Linked DNA regions of Homo sapiens: region 2 is linked to region 1. The links are contacts of gene promoters, found by promoter capture Hi-C in human tissues and cell types (Jung and others, 2019). All regions are on one chromosome and are shown on one strand. Each heading gives the region's core, a stretch centred on a gene start or on the middle of the fragment in contact. The rest is flanking DNA. Distances are from core to core; before and after follow the strand shown. Region 1 holds the start of ARMC3 (armadillo repeat containing 3). Region 2 overlaps ARMC3 (armadillo repeat containing 3).

Evidence for each region. Contacts are between HindIII fragments. The study calls those that stand out against the background at their distance.
Region 2: a fragment that was not itself captured here is called in contact with the fragment with the promoter of ARMC3 in region 1 in 1 of the 25 tissues and cell types used here (hippocampus).

Annotation. Positions count from the first base shown.
Region 1 is chr10:22,923,113-22,930,931 of GRCh38, reverse strand. ARMC3 (armadillo repeat containing 3) reads right to left here and starts at 2,879. Exons shown (of 19, transcript NM_173081.5): 1 at 2,826-2,879. The HindIII fragment of the contact is 8,735 bases long and covers 1-6,632 here.
Region 2 is chr10:22,969,646-22,977,464 of GRCh38, reverse strand. The region is part of intron 8 of ARMC3 (armadillo repeat containing 3); the gene reads right to left. Among named protein-coding and RNA genes, the nearest start is that of ARMC3, 46 kb to the right of the region's middle. The HindIII fragment of the contact is 4,431 bases long and covers 2,144-6,574 here.

The sequences.
Region 1 (7,819 bases), core at 1,630-4,129:
CTTTTCAAGATGTTAATGTCTATTAGAATAACCCAGGAAATCTATCTAGTTTTCTTCAGTGAGAGTTTGTGGAATTATGTTTGACATCAGGGCCATCTTAAACGGTATATCGTAGGAGCAATCTTAAACGGTATATCATAGCCTTAAGGAAATTACCATAGTCTCAGTAGAAATCCTAGGAAGTAGAAAATCCTTGGGGAGAATCTACAGTGTCAGGGTTAGCTCAAATTGCATGTCAAGGGTCAAAAGCAACTCCTAGCATTAGAGACACTGACCAGAATTTATCACATACATTAAAAAGCCACGTCTTCATAGAAACTCCTAGATACTTCTGAAAGGCATTTATTCTAGGTCTCTAACTTCAGACCACACTACTTTTAAGACTTTGGAGGGCCTGGGCAAGCTTATTCACACAATAGCCAATATATTAAAATGTTAAAATGTGCCTGCATCGCCCATTAAATGTCATTTGCATCATAAAAACTTTTGAAATTTGTATTTGAAATTACTCAGCAATCAGTACATACACCTGGAAATTCTTGTAAAATGAGAAAATTGTTTTCAAATGTAATAAAAATTTATATTAATAAAACATTTAATTAACACTAATTTTTCAGTTCTCTTTTCATATTTTAGAGCCAATATAAGCATTTTTTTCAAATCTCAAACATCTTCCTTAGGTGCTTGAAAAGTGAACAGGCCCTAGACCTTGTGCCTATAATATTTCAGGCAGAGAGGCAGAAACTATTCTGGGCAAATGAGAATCTATCCTACAATTAATCTCTAGGAAAAAAAAAAGAGAGAGTTTATAGCACTCTATAACCAATTCCAAGACAGAGCAGCCTTTGATTTATAAAATAATTGCTTATGAATAATATTCAGGAAGCAATTTAATTACACCTGCATAAAGTTGTTTTAAATCATCTGATTTTCACTTAGGAACTAATTTTTCCTACTTCAGGATAGTGTTTTTGAGCAATTGCATAGTGCAGAGGTTAGAAGAGCTTACACAGACAGTATTGCAATGATAGAGTGTCTCCTAAGCTAAAGAATGAAGTTAAAAGCCTATGTGTTTTATCATGGCCCGGCGTGGTGGCTCACTCCTGTAATCCCAGCACTTTGGGAGGCTGAGGCGGGTGGATCACCTGAGGTCAGGAGCTCAAGACCAGCCTGGACAACATGGCAAAACTCTGTCTCTACTAAAAATACAAAAATTAGCCTGGAGTGGCGGTGGCATGTGCCTGCATTCCCAGCTACTGGGGAGGCTGAGGCAGGAGAATTGCTTGAGGCCGGGAGGCGGAGGTTGCAATAAGCTGAGATCACCCCATTGCACTCCAGCCTGGGTGACAGAGCGAGACTCTGTCTCCTCCCCCAAAAAAAGCCTATGTGTTTTATCACCATATTGGGTATGATAGTTAATGGAGGAGAGACTGAACAGCTGACATAGGTCGGTGGCAATGAGCTATGGAGATGATCCTTACAAGGGTAATACATTTCACTGTGGAGAATTTGGAAAACAAGGGCACAACGAATAAAATAAAAATCACCCAAAGATAAGCTCAGAGAGATCAATACTATTTCTTTTCTTTTCCTTTCCTTTCCTTTCCTTTCCTTTCTTTTTCTTTTTCTTTCTCTTTCTCTCTCTCTTTCTCTCTCTCTCTCTCCCTCTCTCTCTCTCTTCTCTTTTTTTCTTTTTCTTTTTCTTTTTTGAGACAGAGTCTCACTCTGTTGCCCAGGCTGGAGAGTGGCCTGATCTTGGCTCATTGCAACCTCCACCTCCCAGGTTTAAGAGATTCTCCTGCCTCAGCCTCCTGAGTAGCTGGGATTACAGGTACCCGCCACCACGCTCGGCTAATTTTTGTATTTTCAGTAGAGACAGGTTTCCCCACATTGACCAGGTTGGTCTCGAACTCCTGACTTCAGGCGATCCACCCGCCTCAGCCTCCCAAAGTGCTGGGGTTGTAGGCGTGAGCCACCGTACCTGGCTTTGTGTGTTTTTCTAAAGTGATTTTAACATCCTGCCTCAACTTCTATCCCCTACTTTCACCTTCCCTTCCTGGGTTCATATTCCTACTAAATTCTTATATTAACAAATAAATTCATGAAGTCTCAGTTTCCCTTCATTGCTTTAATAATCTCCAGTGGATTAGCATAACATGCCATTACAAATATTTTAAAATCCCTTAGCTATCTAGCCAGTCTCTGATTGTTGAAATTTGTTTCTAATTTTCTGGAAATATGGACAGGGCTGAAAGAACGTCCTTGGACATAAAATTTTCATCCATTATCCCCAACTATTTCTTTAGGATAAATCTCTAGCAGTAAATTAACTGGGTGAAAACTTCAGGGCATTGGATATGCAAACAACTCTGCTCTAAAAATGCATCTTCTTGACTACTGGAGCCATTTTTTTTTTCACGAGTTGATTGGTCCTTTGTATTTGTTCTTCGTGAACGTTCAGCCTATGATTTTAAATATTTTCTAATGAGTTCTGCTTTGAGAAGATTTAAAGAGGAGGAGGGCTCAAGAAATCGAGGCCACTTCTGAGTTGCTCACAGTCAAGTAACGGAATCTGACTTGATCTCACCTCAGATCCCCTCTCGGGCCTCAGTTTTGTCACCTGTTGAATGGGAGGTGGCGGGATGCTTACGAAACCCACCCCAAGCCCCGTCTAACCCTGCGGGCGCGAGGCAGAAACTAACAACGCCCAGCAAGGTGTTGCCTCACTGACCCAAGCAGTCTGCGCCCACGTGGCACCTTCTCCTTTCCCAGGTTTTCCTCAGGCCTCTGCCTTGGGCCTCCCCACCCCACGGGGTTACCTTTACCTGCCGGGAGATCCCGCCGAGTAGCTAGCTGCTCCGCAAACCCAGCAGACGAACCCCCAGTCCCTTGTTGTGCCTCGTTGCTAGGCGACGCCACGCCGCGCCGCGCCTGCGCCCTGGGAACGCTCGGGGCTGCTAGGGCGCCCATTGTCCCGCCGAGGGCAGCGGCCAGTGCGGGAGGAGCCAAGTGCGTCCGCGATTACCTGAATCCAGTGCTTTAGGGGAGAATGGAAACTGGGGGTGGAAGCTGTAAATCAAGAGGCAGTTCAGCCTCAGTTTCTGGCCCAAGGACTGGCTGTGGGTTCAAATACGCAAATACTATTGCATTCTTCCAAATAGAGGCGTCAGCCGGAATCTCTATGCAGATGAAACCCACATCAGCCACCTCCTGCCCAGGCTCCGTTAAGCTGCAGACCTGCACTGCCACATCTCTTTGCACTAGGATGTCCAATCCGTTTCCACAGAACTTCTCATGGCCCTTCAAAGCCCCGTTCTCTTCCTCTTTCTTTCCTCTTCCTGCCATTCTTCCAATTGCCTAGACTCAGAAGGAGCTTCAATTTCCCTTCTTCCTCCCATGCCCCCCAACCACAGTCATCACTTCAGCCACTTCTTGGCGGCTTACATTTTGTTTCCTGCTTGTTCCCTTTCTCATATCCTTATTGTCACTTCAATCCAGCTCGTCATTTTTTGGCCTTCTGGCTGAGAAATTCAGTTGCTCTCTGCTTACAGTTCTTTCTACGTATCACAGGCAAATCGGCCATCCAGAAATCATCGTTCCAGTCTTGTCACTTCCCTACTCAAATGTCAGCGGCTTCCTAAGATAAATTTTCAACACATTGGCCTGGAATTTAAGACCGTCTGCTCCATCTCTACTCCATCTGTGCAACCACATTTTCAACCGATCTCCACCATCCAAGCTCCAGCCAAACTTACTGTTCCCGAAATTTTCCACACTTTTCTCTAGATTTTCTTGCTTATCTGTTCATCACTTCATTTTTCAACAAATATTTATAAAGTAGCTTCTATTTCCCAGGTCATGTGCAATACCTGAAATATTCTCTCATTTCCACTTAATTAAGCCCAGCTCAAATGCCATCTTCATAAAATATTTTTTGATTGCCTTTAGCAAAAAGTCTCTCCCTCTCCTCTTAGACTTTGCAAATTCCGTCTCCTACCGGCCCCTGTTGGTCTCCCAGTCCTAAGAATGATAGATGCTTCTTATAATTGCTACTTTTATATATCTTATGTTCTCTTCTCACCATTTAAATTGCCTGATAAACAGCTTTATAACAATTATTTGTATTCAGTTTTCCATGGTCAAATATCCGGTGTGACTTCTGTATAGAAAAGATCTTAAGTAATGGTCATGAAAGTAGGAAAAGGATTAAGACCAAGTAGCATCAAGGAAACTAAGGAGGGAGTTTCAAGAATATAAGCGTCATCAAGTGTTATATGATTGGACCTTGAATAATATACACCTGTATTTTCAGCCTCTCCCTGTCTTCCACGTTTTTTCCTGTTGGTATATAATTATGTTGAAGCCCCTCCCATGCCTCATCTAAAAAGCAAAAACAAATAAAATCCCTTTGATGTTGTTGTTCCTTCTAACTATTATCCTATTGTTTTCTTTCTCTTCTTGGTCATGACTTTTCAAAAAAAGTAGCCAGCATTAGATACTTACATATTTTTAACTTCCTATTCACTCTTCAGACTATAGTGACCTGTTTTCATCCCAGCACTAAAACTATCCATATCCATTGGATGCTTCTTAGCCCTCATCTTGCTTGACATTGCTGCTGTATATAATACTCAATGACACCTCATTCTTGAAACTCTTTTCTTGGTTTCCTTGGTACTACTTGCTCTTGATCTTCCTCCTACTTTCTTTTATGACCATCATTTAAGATCTTTTCTATACAACAGGGTCTATCTATGTTGCCCAGGCTTGTCTTGAATTCCTGGCCTCAAGGAATCCTCCTGACTCAGCCTCCTGAGTAGCTGGGATTTTATAGGGATATATGCCCTATTGTGGTTTTTTTACAGAATCTTAAATGTTGAAATTTCCCAGGGATCTGTCCCTTGTTCTCTTTTCACACTATATGCTTTTCTAGGTGATCTTATTTATATTTGTGACTTCAACTATTGCACATATGTAGCTCCTCATCAGACTCCGGTACTGAACTCTAGACCCATATATCCTACTTGCTACACAGTTCCACCTGGATACCCACAGGCACTTCAGTCATCAACACTACCCACCTAAACTCATCATTTTCCCAGTATAGACATGTTTTTCCATTTATCTAGGGGTACCAACAGGTGTTCTACCCAAACAGACCACCAAGTCTGACAGGCATCCTAGACTTATTCTCCTTTTCATGCAGTTAATTATTGGATTCCCCTAAAAGTTTCTTGAATTTATTCTCACCTTCCAATTCCCATAGCCCAAGTACAGAAAGTCACTGTCCTTTACCTGAATTCATCTAACAAGCCTTCTGGCAGGTCTTCCATCCTCTAGACTCATCCTAGCTTCAATTCATCTTCTCCAAGACAATCAAAGTAATCATTCTAAGATGCAAATTTAATTTGTCTGTGTCCTTGCTGGCTCCAATAGCTCTAACACACAAATGATGAAATGCAACAAGATTCTTAAATTGACACTCAAGATCTTTCTTGTTCTGACTGACTGCTTCCTACTACAATAGCTTCTGTCATTGTTCAAAAATATAGCAAACTGCTCAGCATTCTCCAAGTACACCATGACATTTTGAGCCCTTCACTCCCCTAATCAGCCTGAAAACCACTTATTCATCTTTCAAATTTTAACTTAGTCATCATTTCCTCCAAAAAGTCTTTATTAGCTTCTTCAGACAGAGGGAAGCATTTCTCATTCGTTGCTATAGCTGTACCTTACACTTGCTCTATTTGTTATTTTCACATGATACTGTAATGTATTTGTTGACATGTATGTCTCCCCACCTAGGCTGTTTCTAAATGTTCTTCAAGTAACTAAAGCTTTTTTAATACTCACTATGAGACTGGCAATTATGAAGTGGTTAAAGTGCACAATTAAATCCACACCGTAATCCTGTGAGGTCTGAATGAAGTACAGGGTGATTAGCAGAAGGTCACTCTACTAGTAAATGGTAAAGACAGGACTTGAACTAAGGTCAGCTTGACTTTTATATCCATGTTCTGCACCAATATATCATACCAGCCCATCCTGAAATTATAGTGTTATAACAAGTTGTGATTTATTTTATTTTATTTTATTATACTTTAAGTTCTGCACAATGTGCAGGTTTGTTACATTTGTATACATGTGCCATGTTGGTGTGCTGCACCCATTAACTCGTCATTTACATTACGTATATCTCCTAATGCTATCCCTCTCCCCTCCCCCCACCCCATGACAGGCCCCAGTGTGTGATGTTCCCTTGTGATGTGTTTTTATGAAATAATTAAAACTACTGCTTTAATTCTTGTTTTATAGACTTAGTCTTTGCTGAGTATGTCAAATTTGGGCGGGAGATCATGTTTATTTTAACATATACAGTTGGATGGGTTTGGACAAGGGTTTGCAGTTGTGTAACCATCACCCCAGGGAAGTTTCAGAGACCATCTCCATCATCCCAAATTTCCCTCATGCCCCTTTGAAGTCAAATCTCTCCCTCTAACTCACTTCCCTGGGAACAACTGCTCTGCTTTCTCTCCCTATCATTTTGGCTTTTCTAGAATGTCTTATAAACAGAACCATGCAATATGCTGTATTTTGTGTCTGGCTTCTTTAATTTAGCATAGTTTAGGAGATTTGTCCATGGTGTTGCATTTATCCATAGCTTATCTCACTTTATGGCTGAGTGGTATTGCACTGCATAGATGTACAACATCCATTTACTGATTGATGGACATTCTGGTACTTTCCAGTTTGGGACTGTTATAAATAAATATGGTTAAATATACAGGGTGTTGTGTGAACGTGTTTCTCTCTTCTTGGGAAAATACCCAGGAGTGGAATTTCTGGGTCTTATGTCATGTGTATGTATAATGTTATAACAACCTGCCAAATTGCTTTCCAAAGGAACTATACTGTATTTGCATTCCCACCAGCAAAAATGAGAGATGCCATTGCTTCATGTGTTCTACAGCACTTGATGTTGTCAGTCCTTTTAATTTTAGCCATTTTAGTGGGAGTATAATGGTATCTCCCTCTGGGTTTAATTTGCATTTCCTTCATGACTAGTGATGATGATCCCATTCTATGTGATCACTAGCCATTTCTGTACCTTCTTTTGTGAAATGCCTGTTAAAATATTTTTCCTACTTTTAATTGGGTTGTTTGTGTTCTTGAGTTGTAAGAGTTCCCTGTATAGTGATGATAATCCCATTCTATGTGATCATTAGCCATTTCTGTACCTTCTTTTGTGAAATGCCTGTTCAAATATTTCTCCTACTTTTAATTGGGTTGTTTGTGTTCTTGAGTTGTAAGAGTTCCCTGTATATCCTGGATACAGGTCATTTGTCAGATATACATTTTGGACATATTTTCTGACAGTGTGTGGCTTATCATTTTGTTTCTTAAAAATATATTTTGTACACCGGAAGCTTTCAGTTTTGATGAAGTCCAATTCATTCATTGTTTCAAAGGTTAGCCTTGTTTTGTTTTATTTCATTTTGCTTTTGCCCTGCCTAAGAAATCTTTGCCTAGTCCAAAGGGAAGAAAATAGACTTCCTTTTATGTTTTGTTTTAGAAGTCTTCCAGTTTTGATTCTTATATTTGGGTCTATGATCCATGTCACATTAGTTGCTGTATATGGTATGAGATGGTTTGAGAATCACAATTTTGCATATGAATGTCCAAATGTTCTAGTACCACTTGAAGAAAACACTATTTGTGTATTGAATTACTTTGGCATCTTTGTCGAAAATAAATTTACCCTTTGTAAGTGGATCTATTACTAGGCTCTATTCTGCTTCCTTGATCGATGCATCTGTCC
Region 2 (7,819 bases), core at 3,110-5,609, 45 kb before region 1:
GAAATGGAGGTTCTGCTCAGCAATGGAAGTTAACTTTTGTGCTGTGCTTGCTTGGTATTCCAATGAGGGCCGGGTTACTTTAGTTCATGCACAGGTTGTTGCTTTAATCTACCATAGTGGGAACAGGTGAAGGTCTGGTGTGAGAAAACTGGTAGCAGATGTAGAGCAGAGTGGGCTATACTAGGTTACAGCACGAGGAAGCAGGTTTTTTAATTTCTTAAGGACAGAAAGAGAAACCAGTTATTTTATTGACACCTTGAAAATTAACAGAATTAGAAAATTTGAGATTTCCTCTAAATCTAGCCATTTGAAGAACATGGATACCAATAGATCAAAACAGCATTTCCCAAACCAGAATCCAGACAAAAGGCCCAAACCAGAGCAAATGAGTATAAAATTATGGTCGAACAAAGTTATACAATCCAGACCACAAGGGAGAGTTTCTGAGGAAGAACAAATTGATAACCAATGGCCATGTGCTTGTGTAAAATAGAAGAATCTCTGATGCCAAGTGGGGCTATCTGGATTTGATCCTGCTTATTCTAGCTCAAGAGTTATTCAGAAGACAGGTGGGCTTCAGGCAGTCCGTGAACTCCCTGCAATTATATGCAGAATGTAGTGTATTTGTGCATTTTCAGAAGGTTACTCTTTGTTCAGATTGTCAAAGAAACTTAACACTCCCCAAAGTGGAGTGTGGGCAGTATAGTTGGATGTGCTTGGAAGCTGTCAGAAATACAGGCAGGAATTCAGAAGACAGGTCAGAATTAGAAACAGATTTGGGATTCATAAGCAAATAAGGAGGCAGCTGAAACATTAGTCATAAGTAAGAGTGCTCAGGGAGATTTTCAAGAGAACAAGACATAAAACAGAAGGCAAGTTTAGGTTGAAATAAGCTGAGGAAAGTGGTAAAGGTGAAGGCTGGTCTGGTAATTTGAAGAACAATCAGGAGAGAGGGGTGTTTTGAAAACGATGGAATAAAAGAGTTTACAGGAGGAGAGGGCAATCAGCAGTGTGGATTCCCACCCAGAGGTCACGTTAAAAAGGACTGAAAATGCCTCTGCAGGATTTCGGAGTTGAGAGGTCAACGTCAAATTGTACAAGGACTATTTTGGCAGAATGGCAGAAACAGAAGTCAGGTGCAGCAGGTGAAATGATGGAGATGAGCTGAGGAGATGTGGCTATTTAAAATGGACTGATCTGTCAAAGAGGTTGATAAGAAAAGGAGAAAAAGAGGACCCTGGGGCAAGGGGAAGAGAGGAAGAAACAAATTTCCACAAGTCACCCAGGCCACAGACAATGAAGGGCCTCTTAGAAAGCTCTGAACTTATATCACCTTCCTCTTATATAAACCAGTGGGATCAGGAGAATCGAACTCTGGCGTTGCAATACTGCATTATGGGAAAGTCTCCTCCTCATCCACAATTGGGCTAAAGGAGTCCACTGCCCTTTCAATTGATGGGAAAACAGGCAAAGGGCACCCTGTAGGCTTCATCTATTCATTAAAACTAGGCCCAGGTAGAGTCCTCTGCATTCCATGATGAGCATTAAAAACCAAAATTATGAAACACTGCATAGAAAGGAGAACAGAGATGGTCTAAAAATAAGTATTCATGAGGAAAAAAGATTAAGTGAAACAAAAACAAGAATCCAAAGTATAGTGGAAAAAACTAGCTTCCTGAATTAGGGGAAAAAATCATGACTCTGGAGATCAAAAGGCTTGCCTGTGTAGTGGAGACAGTGGAGAGGGGGACTTAGACATATTTCGGCAAAATTTTCAAACTCAGGATAAAAAATTCTACCTTAATACAGCAAAAAAATCATATATGCAAAATAATGCAAATCAGGCTTGAACAATACAAAAGCAATCTTCATAGATAAGCTTTTCATTTTTGTTTTTTTGAGATGGACTTTCTCTGTTGTTGCCCAGGCTGGAGTGCGATGGTGCGATCTTGGCTCACTGCAACCTCCACCTCCTAGGTTCAAGTGATTGTCCTACCTCAGCCTCCCGAGTAGCTGGGATTACAAGCATGTATCACTACACCTGGCTAATTTTTTTGTATTTTTAGTAGAGATGGGGTTTCACGGTTTCACCATGTTGGCCAGGCTGGCCTTGAACTCCTGACCTCAGGTGATCCACCCGCCTCGGCCTCCCAAACCGCTGGGAGTACAGGCGTGAGCCACCGTGCCTGTCATCACTTCCATAGATATTTAAGGAGAAATGTTATGATGCAACAATTCCAAACCCAGTTAAATTGTCATATATGTTTGAAGGCAACAAACCTATGCACAGGTAAGGTAAGGTCTCAAAGCATATCACTATTGGATATACCTTAAAAAAATTTTAACTGAAAAATATACTCTGGTTAATTTGAGAAATGAATCAAATAAAATCTTAAGGACAGGTAAGCTTTATTATGAGAAATTGACAGCACACACTGAAACAGATTCAATATGTATATAACTCTAAATGACAAATGTGGTTAAAATTGAATGTAATGACAGTGATTCTTAAAAAAGAGAGTCTTGGCCAGGGTGGGGCTCATGCCTATAATCCCAGCACTTCGGGAGGCCAAGGCAGGTGGATCACTTGAGGTCAGGGATTCAAGACCAGCCTGTTCAACATGGTGAAACCCTGTCTCTACTAAAAATAAAAAATTAGATGAGCATGATGGCACGCACCTATAATCCCAGCTACTTGGGAGGCTGGGGCAAGAGAATCACTTGGACCCAGGAGCCGGAGGTTGCAGTGACCTGAGATCACTCCACTGCACTCCAGCCTGGGCAACAGAGCGAGACTCAGTCTCAAAACAAACAAACAAACAAACAAAAAAAAACAGATTTTAGAGAGGGGAATCTATAACCTCTTATTGATCTTAGAAACATCAGAAAGGGAAAGAATTGTGGAAGCAAAATTGCTAAATATCTAAAATAACTATAGTAACTTTATCTTTAAAATAACTGTTTATAAAAGTTTTTAAAATCTATACAAAGAAATGAACAGCATAGAAAAATAAACAGAAAGCATAAAACATAAAACATGATGTCAGAAATAAGGGTGAATATAGTAGCTATAAAAATAAATCTAACAATATTTATTTGCCTTGCCTTTTGGACCTAGTGGTAGTGAAGATTTCCCAATATTGCTAATCTCTGGGGACCTCATCATCTCTTGCTTATTCCCTTAACCCTAATTATACTTCTGAAAGTAGTTCCTTCATTTGTCTCTTTTAAAACCATCAGGAGTCTCCAGAATTTTTTTTCTGCCAAGACCATGTTTGATAATACATGGTAATCTTAATATCAAATTAGAATCAAAAGCTAAAGAGCAATAAAAGTGAGATTTAAAAAAATCAGTAGTGGATAAAAAACATAAAGTGAAGTCATTTAATATAAAATTACAAGAGAAAGGCCGACCGCGGTGGCTCACGCCTGTAATCCCAGCACTCTGGGAGGCCGAGGTGGGTGGATCATGAGGTCAGGAGATCAAGACCATCCTGGCTAACATGGTGAAACCCCGTCTTTACTAAAAATACAAAAAATTAGCTGGGCCTGGTGGCAGGCACCTGTAGACCCAGCTACTAGGGAGGCTGAGGCAGCAGAATGGTGAGAATCTGGGAGGTGGAGCTTGGAGTGAGCCAAGATCGCGCCACTGCACTCCAGCCTGGGTGACAGAGCGAGATTCTGTCTCAAAAAAAAAAAAAAAAAAAAAAAGAAAGACAAAGAAAAAATTACAAGAGAAAATAAAAATAATATAGTGGGAAACTTCTAACATACTACTCTTCATCTGTGACAGATCATATAGCTAAAAAAAGAATAAGGATAAAACTGTACAATATAATTTATAAAATTGAACTAAAAGATAAACTCTGCATTCTACAGGAAATATATCTTTTTGTCTATTCAGAAAATATTTATTCATTCCATCCATTGTTTATCCTTATCTTAATATCCTTAATATAGAAATGAATTGCATATGATAAGTGTTTATTTAAATAGTAAGCAGAGTATGCCTTTCCAAGATTTAATAGAACACTTGTACAAATAGATCCTATACCAGGCCTCAAAGAATATGCAATACTAGTCCAAAGCAAAGTTTGCATTTTTAACTATAAATCAAAGATGTTAGGATTTATTATTATTATTATTATTATTATTATTATTATTATTATTAAGGGTCTTGCTCAGTTACCCAGGCTGGAGTGCACTGGGATGATCACATCTCACTGCAGCCTCAAACTCCTGGGCTCAAGTGATCTTCCTTCCTCAGCCTCCCAAGTAGCTGGGACTACAGGTGCACAACATCACGCATGGCTCATTTAAAAAAAATTTTATGTAGAGATGGGGGGTCTTGCTCTGTTGACCAGGCTGGTCTTGAACTCCTGGTGTCAAGTGATCTTCCCACCTCAACCTCCCAAAGTGCTAGGATTACAGGTGTGAGCCACTGTGCCCAGCCCCAAAATGTTACAAATTAAAATGAGGAACTTTGAGCTCTGGGTACTGACTGAGAAAGATGATCTGGGGGCTCCCTGCAGGTCCTTCCCTCAAAGGGTTGGCCCAATATGCTAATGTAGTTAAGAGACTAAAATACTTGCTGCATAAGACTGAAATGGAAAATAATGATAAATCAACCTATCTATAGATAATATAAAATGATGGTGCATACTTTTAAAATAGCTTTCGTAATACTTATCAACACATTTCAAGGAGGGTATAATAAACAAGAGGAAGTCCTGAAGAGGTAAGAAAATGATCCCAGGATGGCCTGGGGACATGCGTGGAGAGAGACTAAACAAGATCTGAATTCTTCGGTCTGAAAAAGTGATGTTTGAAGGGAACATAATACAATCACAGATGACATATATGAAGTAAATACAGTTAGTCATTAGATTCTAACATAAAGACAGGAGACACAACTTGAAACTGGAATGTAGTTATTTTAGAACTAACAAAAGGAAGTAGAATCAGAAAACATTAAGTGCCAGAAAGGATTTAAAGACTATCTGCTTGAATTCCTTTCTATTACAAATAACCAATTTCAACAAATGATGCTAGGAAAAATTTATGTCTACATGAAAAAGAACGAACTGGGACCATAATTTTATACCCTATATAAAAATAAACTCAAAATGGATCAAGACCTAAATATAAGAGCTACAGCTACAAAACTCCTAGAAGAAAACATAGGGCAAAAGCTTTGATATTTGGTAATGAGTTATTGGATATGACACCAACAGCAAACAGCATAGCCAACAAAATAGATAAATTGGAATGCACCACAATTTAAAACTTTTTGCATCAAAGCACACAATCAACAGAGTAAAAAGGCAAACCACAGAATGGGAGAAACTGTTTTCAAATAATATCTGATAAGGGGTTAATATCCAGAATATATAAAGAACTTCTGTAACTTAGCATCAAGAAAACAACCCAATCAAAAAATGGGAGAAGGACTTGAATAGATGTCTCCAAAGAAGATATGCAAGTGGCCAGTAAGTACACGATAAAGATGCTTGAAGTTGCTAATCATTAGGGCATGCAAATAAAAAGTACAATGAGATAGCACCTCACGCCCATTAGGATGGCTACTATCAACAAACAGAAAATAGCAAGTGTGGGCCAGGATGTGGAGAAATTGGAACTCTTGTGCATTGGTTATGGGAATGTAAAATGGTACAGCTGCTACAGAAAACAATATGGCAGTTTCTCAAAAAAATTAAAAATAGAGGACGGGCATGGTGGCTCACACCTGTAATCCCAGCACTTTGAGAGGCTGAGTTGGGAAGATTGCCTGAGGTCAGGAGTTCAAGACCAGCTTGGCTAACATGGTGAAATCATGTCTCTACTACAAATACAAAAATTAGCTGGGTGTGGTGGTGCGTGCCTGTAGTCCCAGCTACTCAGGAGGCTGAGGCAGGAGAATCGCTGGAAGCCAGGAGGTGGAGGTTGCAGTGAGCTGAGATCACACCACTGCACTCCAGCCTGGGTGATGGAGCGAGACTGTCTCAAAAAAAAAAAAAAAAAAACTAAAAATATAATTACCATATGATTCAGTAACTCCACTTCTAGGTATATATCCAAAATAATTGAAATCAGGGACTCAAAGAGATATCTGTATACCCACATTCTTAGCAACATTATTCACATTAACCAAAAGGCAGATGTAACCAACTGTCCATCCATGGTTGAAAGGATAAACAAAATGTGGTCTATACAGGCAATGGATATTCTTTGGCCCTAAGAAGGGAGGAAATTGTGACACATGCTACAACATGAATGAAACTTAAGGACATCGTGCCAAGTGCTATGCATTTGCAAAAGGACAAATGCTGTATGATTCCATATATATGAGGGATCTAGAGTCATCAAATTCATAGAGACAAAGAATAGTGGTTGCCAGGAGTTTGTATGAGGAAGGAGTGGGAATGATTGTTTAATTGGTATACTTTTAGTTTTGCTAAATGAAAAGATTTCTGTGGATGGACAGCACCACAAAAATGTGAATACATTTAATGCCACTGAAATGTACACTTAAAAATGATGAAGACGGTAAATTTCATAGTATTTGTATTTCACCACAATTTAAAAAGCAAGAATAGGATTGATTCCTTTTCTTCAAGCAAAACCGCTCCCCTTCTTGAGTTCTTCAGTTCTGTGAGTGGCACCATTTTACTTCTAGCTGTCTAAGCCAGAAACCTGGCCTCATCCTTGGTATCGCCTTCTTCCTCTTTCAACCAACATAGTCATTCAAAAATACTCACACATGTGCTGGTGGTTCTCCTTGCAAAGTGCCTTGAGCCAGTCCTGAACACCGCATCTCTGTTTCAGGGCACCTTCACATCTCACCTAGATTACTACAGCAACCCCCTTTTGGTCTTCTGTGTCTGGTCCTAAACATTTCCAATCTCTTCTCCACTTTGCAACACGAGTTCTCTTTCTTTAACAAGTGAAAATCCATGATGTTCCCTCCCTTCTGAGTAACTTCAATGGCTCTTTGTTGCCATTAAAATAAAGTCCAAAATCCTTAACTGGGCTTATAATGTCCATGAGCACTGGGCTCCTCACCACGTCCATAGCCTGAGCGCTCAGTGTTCTGTGGCTTTCTGGTCATTGGCCATTCTGAAAACTTTCGGTTCTGGAACTTACCATGTTATCCCTCCTCTGGCTTTTATACACCCTGTTCCTTCTCAGAACCACTTCTCCTCCTCCATCCCATCTGAACCTTCTTTGACCAGACAATTTATCTTATTTACTCTAGGTCCTAGCTTGTTAATCACTGATTTCAGAAATATTTTTCTGATCCAGGTCTGTGCTGGGAGCCTTCCTGGGTGATCCTGTGTTTCCATCATTAATCACTTTGAACACTGCATTGTAAGTGCCTGTTTACTTTCCTGTTCTGGGTGAGAACTCAGTAAGAAATCATGAGTAAACGAATATATACATTGTTCTGGAGAAGTTATAGTTCACTCAAAATCACTTAAGTAGGTCGTTACAATGCCAGTAGTGGAACTAGTACTAGAACTCTAGTACCAGGAACTCTGCAGCATACTTTCCAGTACTGTGGCACATGATGGGTAGGCATCATCAAACTCACCACCTCAAAATGAGTGAGAACAGTCTTAGAATGACCCAGCCACATTTGATACATATAAATACTCTCCAAAGAGATGCTGAGATACGCAAACATTTCAGGTTTGGCATTGTCCGTGTCTCCCCATTTTACTTCTCTTCGGGTCTCACTTAGCTAAGAAGAACTAGGATAGAAGGAAGAGAGAACTGACCAGCTAGAATAATGTCTAAGTTCCATTTGATAGAATACTGG